Linked DNA regions of Homo sapiens: all the other regions are linked to region 3. Evidence: promoter capture Hi-C in 16 types of primary human blood cells and fetal thymus (Javierre and others, 2016). All regions are on one chromosome and are shown on one strand. Each heading gives the region's core, a stretch centred on a gene start or on the middle of the fragment in contact. The rest is flanking DNA. Distances are from core to core; before and after follow the strand shown.

Region 1 (2,700 bases), core at 197-2,696, 480 kb before region 3:
AAATTGTATATGCAATGGCATCATGTTTTGCTGTTTGGGACCATGCAGTCAAGCTGGCTAAATATGTAGGTAACTTCATCAAATGTACATAATCTGTATCAGGGTAGTCCACCTCTGAAAATTCTAAGGAAAGGATTTAAAGGAAGAGCCAAGCTTTGTGCCTAAAGATGTTTACTGTAACCTGGCCTCTCAGAAAAGGTAGAAACAGTCTAAATAGCCAGAAATAGGGGAATAGTGAGCACATTCAGGTGACAAAACTCCTAGAACTCATGTCACATAGAAATATGTAATGCTGTCATTCTAATCTGGAATAATTCTGGTATAAAATATATATAAATGTTACTTAAAATCAAGCATGTGAGGCTGGACATGTTGGTGCACACTTGTAGTCCTAGCTACTCGAGTTCTTTGCACTCAGAAATTCGAGACCAGTCTGAGTAACATAGTGAGACCTGTCTCATAAAATCAAGCATATGTGCACATCATATATATACATTCAGTCAAATTAATTTTTTTTGAGACAGAGTCTTGCTCTGTTGCCCAGGCTGGAGTGCAGTGGCAAAATCACAGCTCATTGCAGCCTTGATGTTCTGGGCTCAAGAGATACTCCTGCCTCAGCCTTTCAAGTAGTTAGGACTACGGGTGCACACTACCATGCCCAGCTAATTTTTTTATTTTTTGAAGAGATAGGGTCTCACTTTGTTGCCTAGGCTGGTCTCAAACTGAGCATGATTTTTGTTTCCATTTATTTCTATTAATAATAATATGATACTTGTTAAATTGATTTATTGATAATTGACAGCAGGTGATCTTTTTTTTAAGGAAAAACTTACGGACAAAAAAACCCAGGACTATTCTATTTACTAACTTAGTTTTTGGTATCATTCTTATTTTAAGTAGTTATGAGGATACTTTTTCTGCATTATGTTTCAGAAGCACTAGTATTCTAGAAAAGCGTAGGGCCAGGCAGACATGGTGGCTAATGCCTGTAATCTCAGTATTTGGGGAGACTGAGGGAGGAGGATTGCCTCAGCATAGTGAGACACTGTCTCTACTCAAGATTAAAACAAATCAGCTGGATGTGATGGTGCATGCTTGCAGTCCCAGCTACTTTGGAGGCTGAGGTGGTTGCAGTGAGCTATGACTGAGCCACTGCACTCCAGCTGGGGTGACAGAGCAAGACCCTGTCGCAAAAAAAAAAAAAACAAAAAAACAAAAAAACAAAAAACCCAAGAGAAAGAAAAGCATAAATTGAAACCTACTGACATACATTGCTGATTCCTATTAATTTCAAATAATGATACAATTTTTTATGGGATAGTATGTAATTCTAAACTGAATATTAGCGATTTCATAAGAGCAAACTGAAGGTTGCCATTGACTTTTTACTTATTGATAATAAAAAACACTTTTTGTTTCTTTTGCCATAGGAGCTATCACCTACCCTGTGGCCATTCCCACACATTATGTGTACTTCCACTTCCACATCTCTTTTGGTTAGCTCCACTGAGTAGGTACAGTGTGTGTGTGAATGCGAAGTATTTTAATAGTGCAATTTGGCTTTTCATGGTCCTTAACTCTGGAAGGAACTCCATGCTCATTAAGTTTGTGGTGTTGCTGTATTGCAGATGCTGCTGAAGGCTTCCTCTGCCCTAGGCTGCCATCTTTAGTTTGCCTGCATAGAGTAGAGTAACAAAACCAAACCAAATCAGAACTTTGACACCGATGTGGCAGGCTGTGCTTATTATCAGAATATCTTTTAATGTTTGTGTATTTGAGTTTTCGTTGAGCTGATTTTCAGAAATGCTGTCTTTTTAAATTTCCCATTTGCATTTCTGTGTCAAAGTAAAGGATTTGGAATCTGAAAAAGAATAATGTCTAACTTGGTACCAAATAATGTTTCCAGGACTGGTTTGAAGGATCAGATGTGAGTTTTTCAAATTGGAACCTTTTCTAATGGGCCCCTGGGAAATGTCTTAGCTAAATTGCAACAGTGACTGGTGAAGTCGATCGAGGTAAATTGCTCCCATTGCTGAGGGTTCAGAAACCAGGCAGTGGAAGCTAAAATTTCAGGGGAAATCGGGCGGAACTATTGCAGATGGTTTCCCCCTTGAATAGAGATGGGGGTTGGTGTCGCTGTTGATGAATGGGAGGAGATTAAAGCCTGATTTTTGCAACGAGTTGGTAACATTCTCTTTGGGAGACTAAAGAGGAATTTATGAGAAGACCATCAGAATCAGTTAGGTGATTATTTTCAATTTTGACTACAAATGACATCTAGGAACACACCATGATGCCACTGGACTCTGTAGTGGTCTTTATTAGAAAAGTAGCAACAAGAGACTTTTTGTGATGTTTACCCTCAGTGAGCTCAGAGGTCGAGGAATTGCCCAGAATCTTGCAGATTTTCATTTAACAGTCAACCATTGAGCATTTCTGATTTGCATTTAAAAAAAATGAACCTGGCTGGTTTTGACTATTTGTGGTGATATGTTAGAATACAGATCCTCATGCAAGTATTTGTGATTGGCACGTCTCACTCAGACATATGTCTCACTCAGACATCTTCTTTGTGTTTGAGGAAGCCCCTTAAGCTCTGTGCACAGTGAGAATAGTAAAATATCACAGAATCGTGTGGCAACATTAGGCCCTTAGTAATTGGTAAAACTTGATACTAACAACATCTGTCTGTCCATTTTT
Region 2 (2,700 bases), core at 90-2,589, 490 kb before region 3:
TGAATAGCAGGAACCAATGAATGCTTAAATGAGAAATCTTTTAGTAATGTCACAGACTCATCAGAGGAGGGCATTAGAGAAGGAAAGGAAGAATGGAAACGCCACAGGCATCCTGCTGGTATGGTGAAAATGTCCCTCTTTTCCAATTTTCTGTGCCTTATTTCATTGGGAGATATTTTGATTGGCTTTATGTGGGCGGCCTTTTCTTACTAATTCCTTCTTCCTATGAACATTCATCTTTTGAGTATGGTGGTGTCTTAGGCTAGAAAACTGATGTCTGGCCTTTGTAGGTATAAATACCTATTTATACCTGGCTTATGTGATGCCTAGTCTCTGGTCCCCTTCAGTCCATAGCACTGACTGGCCACTTTGAGCATATGGTAGTGAGCTGCAGATATGACTAAGTAAGGCTGCTAGCATTCAGTCTTAGCCATTTAAGTAGTCAGCATATGCTAGTAATGTTTGTATTCAGTATAACTTGGAGGCAAGGTGTTTTTTACTAGCACATTTTGGTTTTCTCGTTGTTGTTATTGTTATTAATTTTTTAAAAAGCTTACATTGGGGATAATTGAGAATAAATGCCTTTGCATTCAGCATGCATGAGATGTTTTGCTTGTGTATAGGGAGGTTGTTGCTTGGGTGGAAGAGTTAGAATTTGTATGTAGAAATGAAGGAAAAATGTGATTTGCAGGGCTACTTTCCAGGTCGACCAAGTTCTTCAAAGTGACAAACATCTCTGTTCCTTTGAAAATTATAGAGACGCTGGTGTGCCCTATCATTAAATGAATTGTCAAAGGCCCTGGATCCTATGGTTTGGATATAAATAGCACATGTGGCTGTGGAAAGGACTCTGTTGAGTGTGGGATTGCCTATGCAATTCCTGCCCTTGTCTCTCTGAGGAATCATGGACTTGAAGTACTTTCTGCTTCTGCTTTATATTGTTTTTATTCAAGGTTCAGATGGTATTGCAAGGAATTGGCATTGGGTATTGAAGGACCTTTCTGTGAGGATGAGTTCTCTGGATAAGAATGATTTTTCTAGCTACAGTCTTGAAGGAAAATTGGAGTCAGATAATCCAAAAACTTCATGTCCAGCCTGGAAGATCCTTTAGAAAAAATTGTTTTTTTCTACTGACAGGAGTTATCAGCACCTGGTTGTGACATATTTGACAAGACTGAACATCAGTGCTTTAAGGAAATGACTCTTGCATGTATAGGCCCACAGCATGGTATTTTCTTAAAGAATTAATTTTTCAGGACATGCCACTATAATAATTTTTAGCAGTGCTTTAGCTAAAGGTGACTTTTGCCTTTCCATTGTCAATGTCACCATGTCGTATTGTCACTTACTTGGGTTTTCTCTCCCTCCTTTGCTTTTTATTTGTCTAGTGTAGGGACAGACTATAGAAGACAACAAGGGAGAACAGGGTTTCTTGATCCTTGTAGGATTAGTATGTTTGTGTATGATGATGGCTCAAATGTAGTCAATGTTCCCCCTTCCCACCCCTTTTACTCCATGTATGTGTTATTGCTTTGGATCAAGAACATCTTGGTTTGTTTCTGTCTTTCTTTTATGTTTGGTTACCAACTGGCCAAGTCAGTGTTCACCTTGTTTCTGGCCCAGTGGAAACACAAACTTGCATGAAAATAGGATATTGAAGTGAGAATCTAACACTCACGGGAATCATTCCATGTTGTCTCCACTGTGCCTGTGATTCTTTGTTTTGCTTGCCTGGCCTTGTCTCCTGTATCTTCCTCTTGACAGCTTGTTTCCTGCCTTTTGATTCCACACAAACGGTGATACCATAGTATGCTTACCCAGACTGGGTCTTTCACTTTTTCCTAGGATGCTTGTGTACAAGGTACTGTCCTTTCAGAACACGCTCATCCCCCTTTGGGTTCTGGATCGGAATCAGATTAATCAGGTGTATGCTGGTAGTTGTGTGTCTGAATTGGTAGTCATGAAGTCTGATTGTCTGGATCGGAATTGCATCATTAATCTGATGTAATTTTAAAATCAAGATACCCTAATAGTATGAGTGAGAATTGGACTAAGTATCTGGTGAGAGTAGGAAAGAGATGAAATATTTCTTCTTCCCCTAAAGGAATTTATAACCTAACTGAGCAATAAGCTTAAACACACAAAATGTTTTTAAAAGTAAGAAGAAAATACGCATTAGAAATCATATTCCTACTTCAGTAGAAAGTGAACAAAACTACATGAATTGGTCTGTTAGAAACTGCTGTAATTGTTAAGAGGCAGGAGAAAGTGTTTCAGGATGGGGTGGAACAGGGTGGTTTAGTAGAAGAAATGACATTCAAGCAGGTCTTGAAGGGTAGCTGAATGGAAGGTGCAGGCCTATGTGGGTGCTGGAAGTAAACAGTTTTTTTGGACTAGTAGCCTCCAAACCTTGAGTATAGACTCACAGAGAAGCTTTAAAGAAACAACACCCAAAACCAAGAAATAGCAACAGTAACAAAACAGATTCCTGCTGTGCACCCCCCATGAAGTCAGAATTATCTGTGTAGGAGGGGGATATGCAGACATGGATATGTTAATGTATTTTTTTCTTTCGTTTTTTTTTTTTTTTTTTTGAGACAGGGTCTCACTCTGTCACCCAGGTAGTGCAATCATGGCTCACTGCAGCCTTGAACTCCCAGGCCCAGGTGATCTTTCTGCGTCAGCCTCCCAACTAGCTGG
Region 3 (2,700 bases), core at 172-2,671:
TTACCAAACCCGGCAGTGGCAGGCTCGGTTCACCAACGTCATTTGCAGTTCCCCGCTTTATGTTATGGGTTTTGTTTTGTTTTGTTTTTTTTATTGAGACAGAGTTTCACTCTTGTTGCCCAGGCTGTAGTGCAATGGTCTGATCTTGGCTCACTGCAACCTCCACTTCCCAGGTTCAAGCCATTCTCCTGCCTCAGCCTCTCAAGTAGCTGGGATTACAGACACTCACCACCACACCTGGCTAATTTTGTATTTTTAGTAGAGATGAGGTTTCACCATGTTGGCCAGGCTGGTCTCGAAATCCTGACCTCAGGTGATCCACCCACCTTGGCCTCCCAAAGTGCTGGGATTACAGGCTTGAGCTACCACGCCTGGCTGGGTTGGTTCTCAATGGAGTGGTTTGTTTTTGGAGCTGCTCTGCGCAGTGGGGACCAGAATAGGCCTGGGTTCCTAGCCCATTGCTATTCCTTACCAGCTGTGGATTCTAAGGAAAGTCATTTAACCTCGCTGGACCTTAGATTCCTCATCCCTGAAGCCCAAGGGTAAAACAAAACAAAACAAAACAAAACAAACCAACCCATCATGTAAAGCGGGGAACTACAAACGATACAGGTGAAACATGCCTACCACACCACTCACAGGCTATGATGACAAAAACGTGGCTACATCTGGGACCACCCCCCAACCCCCACTTTGTACGTAGGAAATACGGAGTTGAGGATGGAGACCCACAGTATGTCCAGAGTGTCCCCAAAGGCCACAGTGCCCGCCTGGAGCCCTCCAGAGAGCGTGCACTCCCTGGGGTGCCAGCCAGAGACAACTTGCCCTGAGGCTTGGAACTCGATTCTCCGCGTGCCAGAGAAGGGGTGGGACTTCAGAACCCCCAACCCCGCAATCTGGGTCGGGGAGCCTGGCGCACTGCGGGCCGCTCCCTCTAACCCTGGGCTTCCCTGGCGTCCAGGGCCGTCGGGGCCGAGTCCCGATTCGCTCCCACCCCGAAGCCGCGCCAGGACCAACGAGGGCGCAGCCGTATGCCCCAGCCCGCTCCGCGGAGCCCCTCACAGCCACCCCCGCCCCGACCGCGCCCCGCGCGGCTCGAAGCACCTTCCCAAGGGGCTGGTCCTTGCGCCATAGTCGCGCCGGAGCCTCTGGAGGGACATCAAGGATTTCTCGCTCCTACCAGCCACCCCCAAATTTTTGGGAGGTACCCAAGGGTGCGCGCGTGGCTCCTGGCGCGCCGAGGCCCTCCCTCGAGGCCCCGCGAGGTGCACACTGCGGGCCCAGGGCTAGCAGCCGCCCGGCACGTCGCTACCCTGAGGGGCGGGGCGGGAGCTGGCGCTAGAAATGCGCCGGGGCCTGCGGGGCAGTTGCGCAAGTTGTGATCGGGCCGCTATAAGAGGGGCGGGCAGGCATGGAGCCCCGTAGGAATCGCAGCGCCAGCGGTTGCAAGGTAAGGCCCCGGCGCGCTCCTTCCTCCTTCTCTGCTGGTCTTTCTTGGCAGGCCACAGGGCCCCACACAACTCTGGATCCCGGGGAAACTGAGTCAGGAGGGATGCAGGGCGGATGGCTTAGTTCTGGACTATGATAGCTTTGTACCGAGTTCTAGCCAGATAGAAGGTTACCGGGAGCTGGGGAGCGTTGGATTTGCTGCTGGGCTGTGCCGGTGCCCAGAAGGCAGGACCTTGCAGAACCAGCCAGGTCCCTGGGAGACTGTCAGACCCACCAACCTGGTGGCATTCGCAGAGCTGAGATGCATTGGAAATTGCCTTGGGCACATCCCCAAAGATCAGGATGTCCCACCCCAGTCTGAAGGAGATAAAGTTGGGGGTAGGAGAGACGCAGATGCAAGTGATCAGTCTCAGTCCCAGACATTGCCTTGCTCTGCGGGTAGGAATTCAGGATTCATTTTCCAGGGAAGTTCCTGACCTCTGAATGAGAGGGGCTGTGTAAGGCCAATGCCTGGGAGGAAGGCAAGGATGAGTAGAGGTGGGGGGAAACAAGTGTCAGGAAGACTCAAAATCTTCCAGAGAAATTGTGCAGGGTCTTACCAGATCTGTCCTCAAAGCCATGCAAATTGCCTTCTTTGCAATGCATACAATGAGGTGTCTCTGGGGGTCAGAACTGGTTATTAGGGAACTTCTAGCCAGGACTGCTAAATACGCGCTGTTGGCCCACCAGGCTCACCTATAGCCTTCCTTCAGTCTGGGCTTGGTTTGGATTTCACTGTGGGTGCCATCGCCTTTACACTCCTGTTTCTATAGTTTAAAGATAGTGGTGCTTTGGGAAAGTGACTCCTTAAATACAGTTAGGTCCAAGTGAGACAAGTGGCCTGGCTGTCATTTCAGAATAGCAGCTTCCAAGAGGTGATTAATTTCTGTTGGAAGGGTGATCTTTGGGGAGGTGGGTGAAGAGCAGAGACTTGGTGGTACCGTTCCAGGAGCACAGGCTCTCTTCCTTTGCAGTGCAGAATGACCTCTGGCAGCCGGAGTTGTGTTTGTTCTGTAGGATTCTGAGGTGGGCCATGGGCAGCTGGAACTGGGGAATTTTGCCAATCTCTTTCATATTAGGATTGTCTGCAGAACCAGATATGGAGGCTTCTAGCAACGTGAGTGCTCCTGTTCTAATGCCCTTAGAAACAAGAAGGCCACACTGATCATTTCTCTCACTTAGGCAGGGAGACAAGGCAAGAGAGAAACAGTG
Region 4 (2,700 bases), core at 150-2,649, 510 kb before region 3:
GGGTATATATATATATTTTACTGTTGTCGACCTTGTTGGTTGTCAGATTATTTCTTTGCTTGGAACTAATTTTAAAATCAATTAGAGATCTCTCCCTTCATCTTTCTCTTTTATTTATGAGATACTGATTGCAGAGCTACCTACACTGTGTTTAGATAAATTACTTTTTTTTTTTTTTTTTTTTTTTACATAACATTTATATTCAAGGCAAGTTTAGTGCAGTCATCCAGTGCTTCGCATTTTTGCAGGCTGGGCTGTAGGTTTCATTCCTTGGTGGGCTAATTAGCTTTGTACTGGGAAAATTTTGTGCAATTCAGAAACCAAACATTTAAGTTCCTTGTGTACTTTAGGCACTGTAGGTCTGGGAAATTATTTTTATGAATAAGGTGTTTATAATTTTAGGATCCATATCTCTAATCCTGACAAGTATGTGTGTGTGTTGTGGTCGGTCACCAGGTAGACTTTAGACTGGATGATGGATTATGGATGAAGCAGCATCATTTCTGTCACTGTTCTAGAAAAAAGCTTTTCATAACCGAGACTGGAATGGGAAGCTGAAGGACACAAATGATTTCCCTACCAGATGACAGGCCAATTGCTTAGGCATATTTTTGATGTCACTTTTCATTTTAGCCTTCCTCTGAAAATCTACGGTCAATTTATGGGCTGTTCACATTGGACAGCTCTTTATTTATTTATTTATTTGAGACGAAGTCTCGCTCTTGTTGCCCAGGCTGTAGTGCAATGTGGCGATCTCGGGTCACCACAGCCTCTGCCTCTGCCTCTGCCTTCAAGCGATTCTCCTGTCTCAGCCTCCCGAGTAGCTGGGATTACAGGCATGAGCCACCACATCCAGCTAATTTTGTATTTTTAGTAGAGATGGTGTTTCTCCATGTTGGTTAGGCTGGTCTCAAACTCCGACCTCAGGTGATCCACCCGCCCCGGCTTCCCAAAGTGCTGGGATTACAGGTGTGAGCCACCGCGCCCAGCCTGACATTGGACAGCTCTTAGTCTCACCATCTACTCTGATATCCGTCTGTTTTTGGCAAATGCCTTTGCCTGGTTTAGTAGTGTATTGGTGGCCACCAAGGAGTATTGCTGTTTCACAGTAGGGTCTCTATTCAGTTTAGCTGTGAAGACATTCTGGAGACTTTGTCTTCCTTGCCTTTTCATTTCTCTGCTAGAAGCCACTTGATGTAATAGCCTTCATCCTTGTTTCACTTTATTGGGCAATTAGTGTGGATAAGCAGAAATATCCCCTTTATGTGTGTTCAGACATTGGTCTCAGAATCTGCTTACCTCTGCTGTCCTGCTGGTTCTGGATAGCCCACATGATGGACGCCTGTAGTTCTGCTGTAAAATACTTTTTCATTGTTTTCTGCATTTTTTTCTCCTTCTCTACTCAGTTTGATTTTTCTGGGTCATGTAGATTTGTCATTTCTTCAGATCTGTTGCTAACTAAATGTCTAGCACATAGTTGATACTCAGGTGTTAGATAGTGTCTCATTGCATCCTCACTGGGGGCCTTTACTCATTATTCATAGTTTGGGGATATAGGGATGGGCAGAATATGCTGACACTTGGCTTTCTGATTCTACCACTCTGCCTTTCCTAGGACATGTTCCTCATCACTACTGGGAACGCGGGACTTTTTTCACATGCTGTTGTCTTTTGTAAGGTGGGCCACAATTAGGAGAAAGCCACATTCATATTCGTATGGAGCTGCCTTTAGCAGCATCTGCTTCTCCAGCTGGAGAGGCTTGTTTTAGAACGACTGGCATGCGGAAGCGGTAGGTGGAGGTCTGGGAGGAGCTGCGTAGCCAGGGCTCCCCTTCCAGCCTCCCGTCTCCCTTAGGCTCTTTCTGGCCTGAGGCATGGTCGCCATGGGTGGGGGCACTGCCCGCCCGATTCTGGTTGGACCCCCTTTCCTCTACTTCATACCGCAGCTGCTGTGAGCGAGTGCACTGTGCTCTGCACAGGAGAATTGGCAGACAGTTCCATATGCTGGTTTTGGCCATTGGGACATTCAGGATTATTAGGCCAGTTTGTACTTTAAGAGGAGGGAGACTTGACATCGCTCAAAGCAGCTTATTTTATTTATTTCTATTTCTTATAAAGGGGAAAGAAGCTAGCCCAGCCCTTAGCTGTTCCTTTCAACGTAGCCGGCTCAACGTTTTCCTCAGGAAAACATGCAGGGTTCCTCACAGCTGCTTGAGCCAGGCTCTGTCCTTCCTTCGCAGATTGCCCCGTGGCTGCCTGCCTCTTCACTCTCCTAAAGCTTTTTGGCTTTACCTTCCTTCCCTCACTCCTCCCAGTCTTCCCTCAGAGGACTGACTGGTTCTTTCAGCCTAGACACTCCTGTTTGCCTGCCAAGTTACCCTTCTTCCGGAGGTGCATAGCCTCAGCACTGTCAGAGTTCAGGAGAACAGAAGCTCCTCCAGTGAGAAGCCAGTTAATAACAGCTTTTGGACCCATTGTTGTTATTATTAGATATCCATAAAATCTAGCAGGTAGAGAACCGTCACTGGGGCTCTGCTGGAGAGATATGTCTCAATCCTAAAAGATACAAATTAGTCCCAGAGTACCTGATACCGTAGACGGAACCTGACAAACTGGAAACTCAGTGTGATAAAATCCTATAACCTTTCATCTCTCACCCCCATCACCCAGTAAGAAGTGCATTCTCAGGGCAGAAGCTAA
Region 5 (2,700 bases), core at 182-2,681, 460 kb before region 3:
TTGACACCTAAGATTTGGACTTAGAATCACCTGCCTCTTCAAAGAGAGCTTCCTTTGTAATTTTTCTTCTTGACTTAATGAAAGCCTGTCCCAGTGTTCTCTGTTTAGGGTTTTGCTCACTAATCATAATGACGCCATTGTTCTTTTCTCTTTTGCTAGAATTGCTTCAGTGCCTTAACAGGCAAATTAGACAATGAGAAGAAGAAATTTTTTATTTTAGATCCCTTTTTATCCTATTTGGTCATTTAGAGCACCAGGCAGTCTATCTCCTAAAGAATGAGTTTCACAGTGCACTGGGGATTTAGTTGCCTAAGGTGTCCTATGGCTGAAAAGTGAATTCTTTATGATTTTGGCAGCATTTAGAATTCTTCTGAGCTACGGAAAACTCAAGTTTTATGACCTCTTTGTTAGGCTGCATTGCAGAGACACTGTAATATTGCCTAGTCAGTGAGAAAGATGACTAGGTTTGTTCTGCGGGACATCAAAGAATAAAAGTAGGATCAGATATATGGGAACATATTTCTGCTCAATGTGAAGAAAATAACTTTCTAAGAAAAGTGTCTGGTAGAAGAGAGTGAGCTGCTTCAGGAGAAGGTAGGAACATGGAGAAGATTTTACAGTACATGGGAAGCTGAACTTAAAAGACTTTGAAGTTCTCATCCAACCCACAGACCCTGTGATCCTATGACCTTATAAAAATGAAGAGACCAATTAGTTCACCATAGAAGTAATACGTTATTATTAGTATTTCCACACATGGCTTGCAAGTGACTTAGCTGGTTCTTGTTGAAGCTGCCTTCACTATGTGGCAATCATCGTTCCTCCCCGCCCCCCCTTCATTATACTAATATATATAATTGAACACAGAATTCATCGAGAAAAATGGAAAACTGATTTTATTGCCTTGTGATATTGACTTTTCTTTATAATTGTAACTCCTCCCAGTTATGCCAAGTTGCTGGGGCAGAGACAATAGCAGTGCTTTGGCTCCATAGGAGTTAAGAAAGGAAGAAGAAACTTTTTTGTTCATTTGATTTTTTTTTTTCCACTTGGAATAGAAATCCGGTTCTGAACCTTGTTTCATGGTTTGATTTATAAGTCCTTCCTTTTAGCCAAGGAATATCTTTTTGCTAACCTTAGAGCAAATTAGCCAGATGCTTATATATTTGATAGAGCTTTTCCTTCTGTTATTAATAATTAAAGTAAAAGCAATCATAATGAAATGTCAATTCAGTAATAATGAAAATGTTCCAAAGCATGTTCAGATTTGTAATCTCATAGAATACATGAGAATAATTACCTGGATTATTCCCAGTAATCGTTTCATAGAGGGGAAGCCCAAGATACTGAACTTTGGTATAATTATTTGCAGTACTTAGTCCAGATTCCCCTTTTTCACTTAAGACAACATCCCATAAAATTTTCGCTTGGGTTATATACAATTAATCTGAGTGGTGACCAGTTTCTTGATGATCAAGCTGTAATATCTGATCCTAGTTAGGTTGCATATCTTTGAGGAGGCAGAGAATAGTTTCATGCCCTGCCTGGCTGGATCCTCAGTAACTATTCTTAGTCCAGTGCCTTATTTACCTGTCTGACTTCCTATTGTTTCTTGATTGTCTCTCCCAAGCAGGGGAGATTAATCTAAACACACTGACCTCCTTTGTGGTTGTTGAGGATGATCACAGTTGAGGTCTGGTTGTTTTCCAGGCAGAAAAGGGAAGTTAATTTAATAGGATCCTAATCACAATAGTGGTTTCTGTGATATATGTGCATGAGTTTGAAAAGCAGTCCTGGGGTCCTGCATTCTCACATTGGCCTGCACTGCCTTTTGCCAGGGACTCTGATAAGATAACTGGTCTTCAGATGAGGAATGTATTTCTTTTCATGTTAAGGCATCATTAAACAGCCTGGGGAGCTTATTTTTCTATTTAAGCCTCATTCTGTCATAGGTTACAATCCTTTGGGGGGCAGAGATGTGTTGTTAGTTCGCTGAAAGTAGAATTTAATTGGCTATTCTACAGAATAATGATTTTTAATTTGGCAAGAGAGTCATGATGCAGTCAGCCTTTTAGGTCTTTAAAGTTGTATGGAAGTTAAAGAAAGTAACCAAACCTTACTTGGAACACTTGGCTCCTCCCTCTGCAAAGCAGGGCTGTAGACCTCTGTGTGTGATTGTGGGTTGGGCACACTGGAGCTTCTGGCCATCATGAGTAGCTGTAGTGGGGGCAGGGAGAGTGAGGGTTGTCTGCTTCACCACTGACCTTTTCCAGTGGCCTGGACTGAGTTTTTCAACTGCTGTATGTGTATTCGTTATAGAAATGCTGAAGACTACAACTGCCCAGCAAGTGAAGCATTATCTTCCTCCCCATTTTCCTAAATAGGAAGTAGACCTATTGCAACACCTAGTGTAGTAATGTATGTGGCAGTGATTTCCTCTTTAATTCAGCAAACATGCTGCAGGAGAATGGGGACTCATGGTAAGATTCTGCACATTGGAAATTGGGGACAGATATCAATTCTGGATATATTTCCTTTAAAGGGTAGTTAGTTATCACATGCCTTCTGAGGATTGCATGAGTCACCTTCTAGTGTGGCACCCCTTTTCATTTGGGTATGTAGAGCCATGGTTACTGTTCAACAGACGTTGAACCAGATGTGCCTGCTATTACAGAAGTGAAATCTGACAGCTGTTACCTA

The links. Contacts are between HindIII fragments. The CHiCAGO score rates a contact against its expected background, and 5 or more counts as called.
Region 1: a contact is called between a fragment that was not itself captured here and the fragment with the promoter of LEP in region 3, in 2 of 17 cell types (naive CD4 T cells and M1 macrophages). The highest score is 6.7, in naive CD4 T cells.
Region 2: a contact is called between a fragment that was not itself captured here and the fragment with the promoter of LEP in region 3, in 13 of 17 cell types (M1 macrophages, naive CD4 T cells, total B cells and 10 more). The highest score is 10.8, in M1 macrophages.
Region 4: a fragment that was not itself captured here is called in contact with the fragment with the promoter of LEP in region 3 in 8 of 17 cell types (naive B cells, naive CD4 T cells, total CD8 T cells and 5 more); the score reaches 7.8 in naive B cells.
Region 5: a fragment that was not itself captured here is called in contact with the fragment with the promoter of LEP in region 3 in 2 of 17 cell types (M1 macrophages and monocytes); the score reaches 5.5 in M1 macrophages.

What each region holds. Positions count from the first base shown.
Region 1 is chr7:127,762,848-127,765,547 of GRCh38, forward strand. The region is part of intron 10 of SND1 (staphylococcal nuclease and tudor domain containing 1); the gene reads left to right. Among named protein-coding and RNA genes, the nearest start is that of SND1, 110 kb to the left of the region's middle. The HindIII fragment of the contact is 2,591 bases long and covers 152-2,700 here.
Region 2 is chr7:127,746,469-127,749,168 of GRCh38, forward strand. The region is part of intron 10 of SND1 (staphylococcal nuclease and tudor domain containing 1); the gene reads left to right. Among named protein-coding and RNA genes, the nearest start is that of SND1, 96 kb to the left of the region's middle. The HindIII fragment of the contact is 1,579 bases long and covers 551-2,129 here.
Region 3 is chr7:128,239,857-128,242,556 of GRCh38, forward strand. LEP (leptin) reads left to right here and starts at 1,422. Exons shown (of 3, transcript NM_000230.3): 1 at 1,422-1,450. RefSeq lists promoters at 1-1,450, 1,204-1,450 and a cis regulatory region at 1,368-1,376. The HindIII fragment of the contact is 7,258 bases long and covers 1-2,700 here.
Region 4 is chr7:127,729,276-127,731,975 of GRCh38, forward strand. All of the region lies in intron 10 of SND1 (staphylococcal nuclease and tudor domain containing 1), which reads left to right. Among named protein-coding and RNA genes, the nearest start is that of SND1, 78 kb to the left of the region's middle. The HindIII fragment of the contact is 1,753 bases long and covers 524-2,276 here.
Region 5 is chr7:127,780,554-127,783,253 of GRCh38, forward strand. All of the region lies in intron 10 of SND1 (staphylococcal nuclease and tudor domain containing 1), which reads left to right. Among named protein-coding and RNA genes, the nearest start is that of SND1, 130 kb to the left of the region's middle. The HindIII fragment of the contact is 4,942 bases long and covers 1-2,700 here.